Linked DNA regions of Homo sapiens: region 1 is linked to region 2. The links are contacts of gene promoters, found by promoter capture Hi-C in human tissues and cell types (Jung and others, 2019). All regions are on one chromosome and are shown on one strand. The core of a region is centred on a gene start or on the middle of the fragment in contact, and the rest is flanking DNA. Distances in the headings are between cores, read along the strand shown.

Region 1 (3,038 bases), core at 71-2,570, 110 kb before region 2:
CAGCTGCCAGATACCTAGCTTTGAAATAATTTTTTTTGTTTTTTGGAGACAGAGTCTTGCTCTGTTGCCCAGGCTGGAGTGCAGTGGCACAATCTAGGCTCACTGCAACCTCTGCCTCCCAGGTTCAAGTGATTCTTCTACTTCAGTCTTTTGAGTAGCTGCGACTACAGGCATGCACCACTGCGCTCGGCTGATTTTTGTATTTTTAGTAGAGGCGGGGTTTCACCATGTTAGCCAGGCTGGACTCAAACTCCTGACCTCAGGCAATCTGCCCTCCTTGGCCTCCCAAAGTGCTGGGATTACAGGTGTGAGCCACCATGCCCAGCCCTGAAATAATTTTTTAACATTGCACTGTACCCACACTACCTGAGCTATAAAGCAGTGATACTTCCTGTTTGAAAATTGAGTGCTCCCTGAAGTTGCCAGGAAACTGGCAGAACAGCCCACCCTGAACCTGGGAGTGAAACTCAGGGGGTCCTGTTCCTTGGTGACTTCAGCCATAGGGTGTTTCCCCAGGGAGTGCAGGGGCTAATATCCCAGCTCCTGCCTGACTTCCTAGAGTAGGACAAATAATCTTATCCAGGAGAGAAAATCCAACTGGAGGAAATGCAGCTGACTGGAAAGGTTCTCATGGTTGTAAGGCAATGTCAAGGTCACCACCACCCAGGCCCTGCCCAACACAGAAGGCCCTAGACAATATCCCTGCTAGGGGGGCATGCAGATGCTGCAGAGTCATTCCTCTTCCTTCCTGGGGTCCACTTCACTGCTAGACAGCTGTGGTCCTTAGCATGGCCCAAGGACGGACCCTGGAGCTTCTTACCCAGATCCAGATCTTTGAGGACATCTTTCCAAGAAGAATCATCTTTCCATGTCTTCTTTTCCCTGAGGTAAAAATTCCAGCTTCCACACAAGACCCTATAATAGAGAGATGGTTTCTTTTGGGAAGAAACCTGGGGTTTTTCAGGTGAGTCTACTCTGGGGAAAGCCAGGCATTTCCCCTGCTCCTTGCTGATGGTTAAGCAAGAAGGAGGTAGCACTGGAAAAATAAAGCTAGGAGATCTCTTCAGGGGATAACTCTTCAGGTCCTTAATTAGGGAGCACAGATAAACTCCAAATTAGACCACTCCACTCTGCAAGGGCAGCATATTCCACTTGCTATCAGAAGAGCTTTGTTGCTGCAAAGGGCTTGGAGATCTCTGTTCTACAAATTGCCCATGGCCCCTGGCCCATCAGCAGGGGAAAGGAGATAGTGGAGAGACGCCCTTTTCCGGTGTCCTGGGCTCAACAGGGATAAAAGGAGGCAGCACTCTGGGTGCCCCATCAGTGTGTTCTCTACCCCTTGGAGACTGCTTTTCTCCAGCTCTGTCAACTCAACCTTTCCCACCATGAGTCGGCAACTGAACATCAAGTCCAGTGGTGACAAGGGCAACTTCAGTGTGCATTCGGCAGTGGTGCCAAGGAAGGCTGTGGGTAGCCTGGCTTCTTACTGTGCAGCTGGCAGAGGGGCTGGCGCTGGCTTTGGCAGTCGGAGCCTCTATAGCCTTGGAGGGAATCGGCGTATTTCTTTCAATGTGGCTGGTGGCGGCGTTCGGGCTGGAGGTTACGGCTTCAGGCCTGGCTCTGGGTATGGAGGGGGCCGGGCCAGTGGCTTTGCTGGCAGTATGTTTGGCAGTGTGGCCCTGGGGCCTGCATGTTTGTCTGTGTGCCCACCTGGGGGCATCCACCAGGTCACTGTCAACAAGAGCCTCTTGGCCCCCCTCAACGTGGAGCTGGACCCTGAGATCCAGAAGGTGCGCGCCCAGGAGCGGGAACAGATCAAGGTGCTGAACGACAAGTTCGCCTCCTTCATTGACAAGGTGGGTCTCATAGGAGGAGGATGAGGCCGCACCCTGAGGCCTGAGCAGTTTTCCTGCTGCCTGGGAATGGACTGCACACTGTGGCTGGAAAGGTGCAGCTGGGCCTCAGGAAGGGCTTCCTCACCATTAGGGAAGGAGAGTAGGTCTGTGAGCCACGGAGGACAAAGGAATACATGAATATATCGGCTTCTTTGGCGATTTTGCAGGGAAGGATGGGAAGCTGGGTAAAGAGCAGCCCTTCCTTGACAAAAAAGTGATGAGTTTCTTGAGGACAGCTGGATCTTCCAAGAACATGAAAGGCTAATAGAATCCAGCAGTGTTCAGAGGGAAGGGCTCATGGTACAGGAAGAGACACTTAGTTGAGACATAAGGAAGGACATCTCCTGGGACCAGGGCCGAGCAATAGAAGAAAGCTGTGGAAACTCCTTGAGTGAGTTCTCAGTGATGCCTTGTCCAGAAGGCTAGGAAATGAGCACTTGTAAAGGATCTAGTTTGTGTGGAATGGCAAGGGTGGAGAGTCAAGACATGAGCAAAAATGACTACAACAATCTATGGCAAACCTGGGGAGTCAATGGTGTGTGTCCAGGGGGCATGACTGCACCCATTGTGGTTCCAGGTGTCTGTTGATTTGGGTTCCAGGTACGCTTCCTAGAGCAGCAGAACCAGGTTCTAGAAACCAAGTGGGAGCTGCTGCAGCAGCTGGACCTGAACAACTGCAAGAAGAACCTGGAGCCCATCCTTGAGGGCTACATCAGCAACCTGCGGAAGCAGCTGGAGACACTGTCTGGGGACAGGGTGAGGCTGGACTCGGAGCTGAGAAGCATGAGGGATCTGGTGGAGGACTATAAGAAGAGGTGAGCAGGCTCCACCCGAGGGTCACAGACCATGTTTCCCGTGCCTCTGGGCTCACCTGATCTCTGTGCCATTATTTTTTAGGAGATGGGGGAGTATGCACCAGGGTCAGGAGCTCACATCCCTTTCTCTGGCTAGGGGGAAGGGCCTATCCTCTTTGATGATAACTTCCTGCCTAGTTGATAGGAAGCGGTTCCTGTGCTCCTTGACCCACTGAAATGTTCAGTTGCTGGTGTCGGGAGCCCAATAGGCACCTGGGTGTTTTCCTAACATGCAAAAACTAGGAGACAAGTGAAGCAACTCAGGGATATCTTACTCCTGTCACTAGCC
Region 2 (3,327 bases), core at 44-2,543:
CAAGGCTTTCTCCTATGTTATCTTCTAGGAGCTTTACAGTTTTGCATTTTACATTTAGAGTTATGATCCATTCTAAGTTAATTTTTGTGGTGAATATAAGACCCGTATCTAAATTTGTTTTTCTACATGTAGATACCTAGTTATTCCAGCACCAATTGTTGAAAACGCTGACTTTGTATTGCCTTTGCTTCCTTGACAAAGATCAGTTGATTATATTTATGTAGATCAAATTCTGGGCTCTCTGTTTTGTTCCTTGATCTATTTGTCTATTCTTTCACCAATACCACCGTGTCTTTGTTACTGTAGTTTCATAGTAAGTCTTAAAGTAGGATGCTTGCAGTCCTCTGACTTTGTTCTCCTTCAATATTGTGTTAGCTATTCTGGGTCTTTTGCCTCGCCATAAAAACTTTAGAATCAGTTTGTTGATATCCACAAAGTACTTTGCTGGGATTTTTTTATGGTGGAAAACTCATAGAACTTTATACTGTGGAATTTTTATTAGGGAAAGCTCATAGAATTTTATACTGTGGAGTAAACCTTAATGTTTGAAATTAAAGAAAATGATTTATGAGATTGAAAGATCTTAGAATGGAATGTACAATGTGGCAAAAGGATCTAACTATATTACAAATGTGTGAAATCACCTCCCTGAAGTGGATGGGAAGAAAAAAGGCTGACATCAGGAACTCTGCAAGTGAGTGGAGTCTATGAGACTAAAGGCAAAGAAACTTGTGAGAACTGTATGTCAGTATTGTACTTGAGTTGATAAGGCTGCTTCCCATGGTGGCATGACTAACAATTCTGAAACCACTATGCCTGTGCTTTAGTCAGTGTTCTCCAGAGTAATGGAAACTATAGGGTATATATATATATATATATACACACACACATATATATATACACACACACATATATATACACACACACACATATATACACACTCATATATATATACACACACACACAAATATATATATATATCTGTACCTATCTATCTATCTGCATCTATCAATCTACTTACCTATGTATTTAGAGAGAGAGAGAGATTATAAAGAATTGGTTGATGTGGTTTAGGTGGCTGACAAGTCCCAAGATCTGCAGTGGACCAGCAGGAGACCCAAGAAAGCAAATGTTCTAGTTTGAGTCTAAAGGCAGAAAAAACCCAGCTCAAATGCTATTAGGCAAAAGGAATTCTCTCTTACTAACCTGTTTGTTCTATTCTTCCCTTTAACTAATTTAATGAGGCCCACTCACATAAGTAAGGCAATTTGCTTTACTCAGTATATATACTCAAATATTAATCTCATCCAGAAACATACTCACAGACACACCCTCACCCTGAAAAATGTTTTACCAGATATCTGGGAACTCCCACAAAAATATTCCACCATAATTTAAATTTTTTTTTCTATTCTGCAAGATGTGTTTTTAAAAAATTCAATAGTTTTGGGGGAACAGGTGGTGTTTGGTTGCATGGAAATGTTCTTTAGTGGTGATTTCTGAGACTCTGGTGCACTCATCACCCAAGCAGTGTACAATGTACCCAGTGTGTAGTCTTTTATCCCTCACCCCACTTCTACCCTTCTCCCCAAGTCCCCAGACTTCATTATATCATTTGTATGCCTTTGAGTCCTCATAGCTTAGCTCCCGCTTACAAGTGAGAACACGCAATGTCTGGTTTTCCATTCCTGAGTTACTTCACTTAGGATAATGGTCTCCAACTTTAGCCAGGCTGCTATGAATGCCATTATTTGATTTCTTTTTATGACTGGTGGAGGTGGCAGGGGTGTGAAGTAGACTCTGTGAGAGTCTTTCGTTGTTGATATGTTTAGTGTGCTGGTTTTCTCAAATTCTGGTTATGCTAGCAGTGAAGTTGTCACATCGACAGACCAGAATGTTGCAGGCAGTGGAATGAGCCGTTTTTTTCTCCTTCTTTGGAGCAGGGTTGTTCTGTCCTGAGTTGCTGTACTGTCCTGAGTTGGTTGGCCTCCAGCCAGGAGGTGGCACTTTTGAGAGAGCACCAGCTGCGATAGTAGAAGGGGAATATAAGCTTGCCCTAAGTTGGCCAGGATAAGTATTCAGGTTTCTCAGGTGATGGCTGGGGTCATAAAGCTCTCAACGGTTTATGTCTTTTGTGACTGGAGTTCTTCATCTGTCTTGTGGAATTTGCAATGGCCTTCTTCTCTTTTCAAAAAATCTGTGATTTCTTTCTGTTTTCATGGTATGCTTCTGCAGTGGTTCCTGGAGCAAAAGTTCACAGTGTGAGTCTCCATATGATGTTCTGTTCTTCAAAGTGGGAGCTGCAAGTCAGCCCTGTCTCCAATCCATCTTCCCTCTAATTTTAATTCTATTCCACAACATATGTTCTGATGATTAATTTTATGTGGCAACTTCCATGGATGTTATGTGTTCCATTCATGTTATATGGTCCCATCACAATACATACTGAGGAACAAAACAATTAAGTAAATGGATAGCAGATAGTCGCAGCCAGGGTTTTTGCTGTTGTTATGTGAGGTTGTAGATAAGCAAGAGAAGATGCTAGAATGATCCATGTGGTAATGAATTCAAGTTGGAGACTTGAATAGATAGATACAAATTGTTACATATAATAATACATATAAATGTATTTATTGTCACCTAACAGGGCCCAGAAGCAGTGACACACCAGCAGCAGTGAGCACATCTTGTACCTAGATCTTGGTTGCTAATGCTATTACCCACTCTTACCCACTGTTACCATGATGGTTAATTTTATGTGTCAACTTAACTGGGCTACAGGTGCCCATATATTTGGTGAACACTATTCTAAGTATTTCTGTGAGGATGTTTTGGATGAGATTAAGATTTGAATCCATAGACTGAGTAAAGCAGATTGCCCTCCCTATTGTGGGTAGGTCTTATTCAATCAGCTGAAGGCCTGAATAGAACAAAAGCCTGACTGACCCTCCCTCTGGTAGGAGAGAACTCTCCTGCCTTATGGCCTTCAAACTGGGACATTAGCTCCCTCTGGTTCTACAGCAGCTTCCAGCCTTCAAAGTCAAACTGACACATCAGCTTTGCAGATTTTGGATTTGCCATTTTCCGTAGTTATATGAGTGAATTCCTTAAAATAAATCTCTTTATATATTTATCTCCTATTGGTTCAGTTTATCTGAAGAACCCTGACTAGGAGCAAGTGGCTCTTGGAGAAATTGTTGATTTTAGGACTAGGGCAGGAGACATAAAAGATGATCCTGGAGCATCTTGCCATGTCAGAAAGTAAGGAAGTTTTTTAAATAACAGAGAAGCAAACAAAAATGAAAAAACACAAGGTGTCAATTAAAA

What was found. The method cuts DNA at HindIII sites, captures the fragments that hold promoters and counts their contacts. A contact is called where the count stands out against the background at its distance.
Region 1: a contact is called between the fragment with the promoter of KRT74 here and a fragment that was not itself captured in region 2, in 2 of the 25 tissues and cell types used here (H1 embryonic stem cells and small bowel).

What each region holds. Positions count from the first base shown.
Region 1 is chr12:52,572,125-52,575,162 of GRCh38, reverse strand. KRT74 (keratin 74) reads left to right here and starts at 1,320. Exons shown (of 9, transcript NM_175053.4): 1 at 1,320-1,856; 2 at 2,496-2,710. The coding sequence starts at 1,386. RefSeq lists an enhancer at 2,726-2,895. The HindIII fragment of the contact is 9,071 bases long and covers 1-3,038 here.
Region 2 is chr12:52,460,553-52,463,879 of GRCh38, reverse strand. No RefSeq gene overlaps it. Among named protein-coding and RNA genes, the nearest start is that of KRT6B, 10 kb to the right of the region's middle. The HindIII fragment of the contact is 6,054 bases long and covers 1-3,327 here.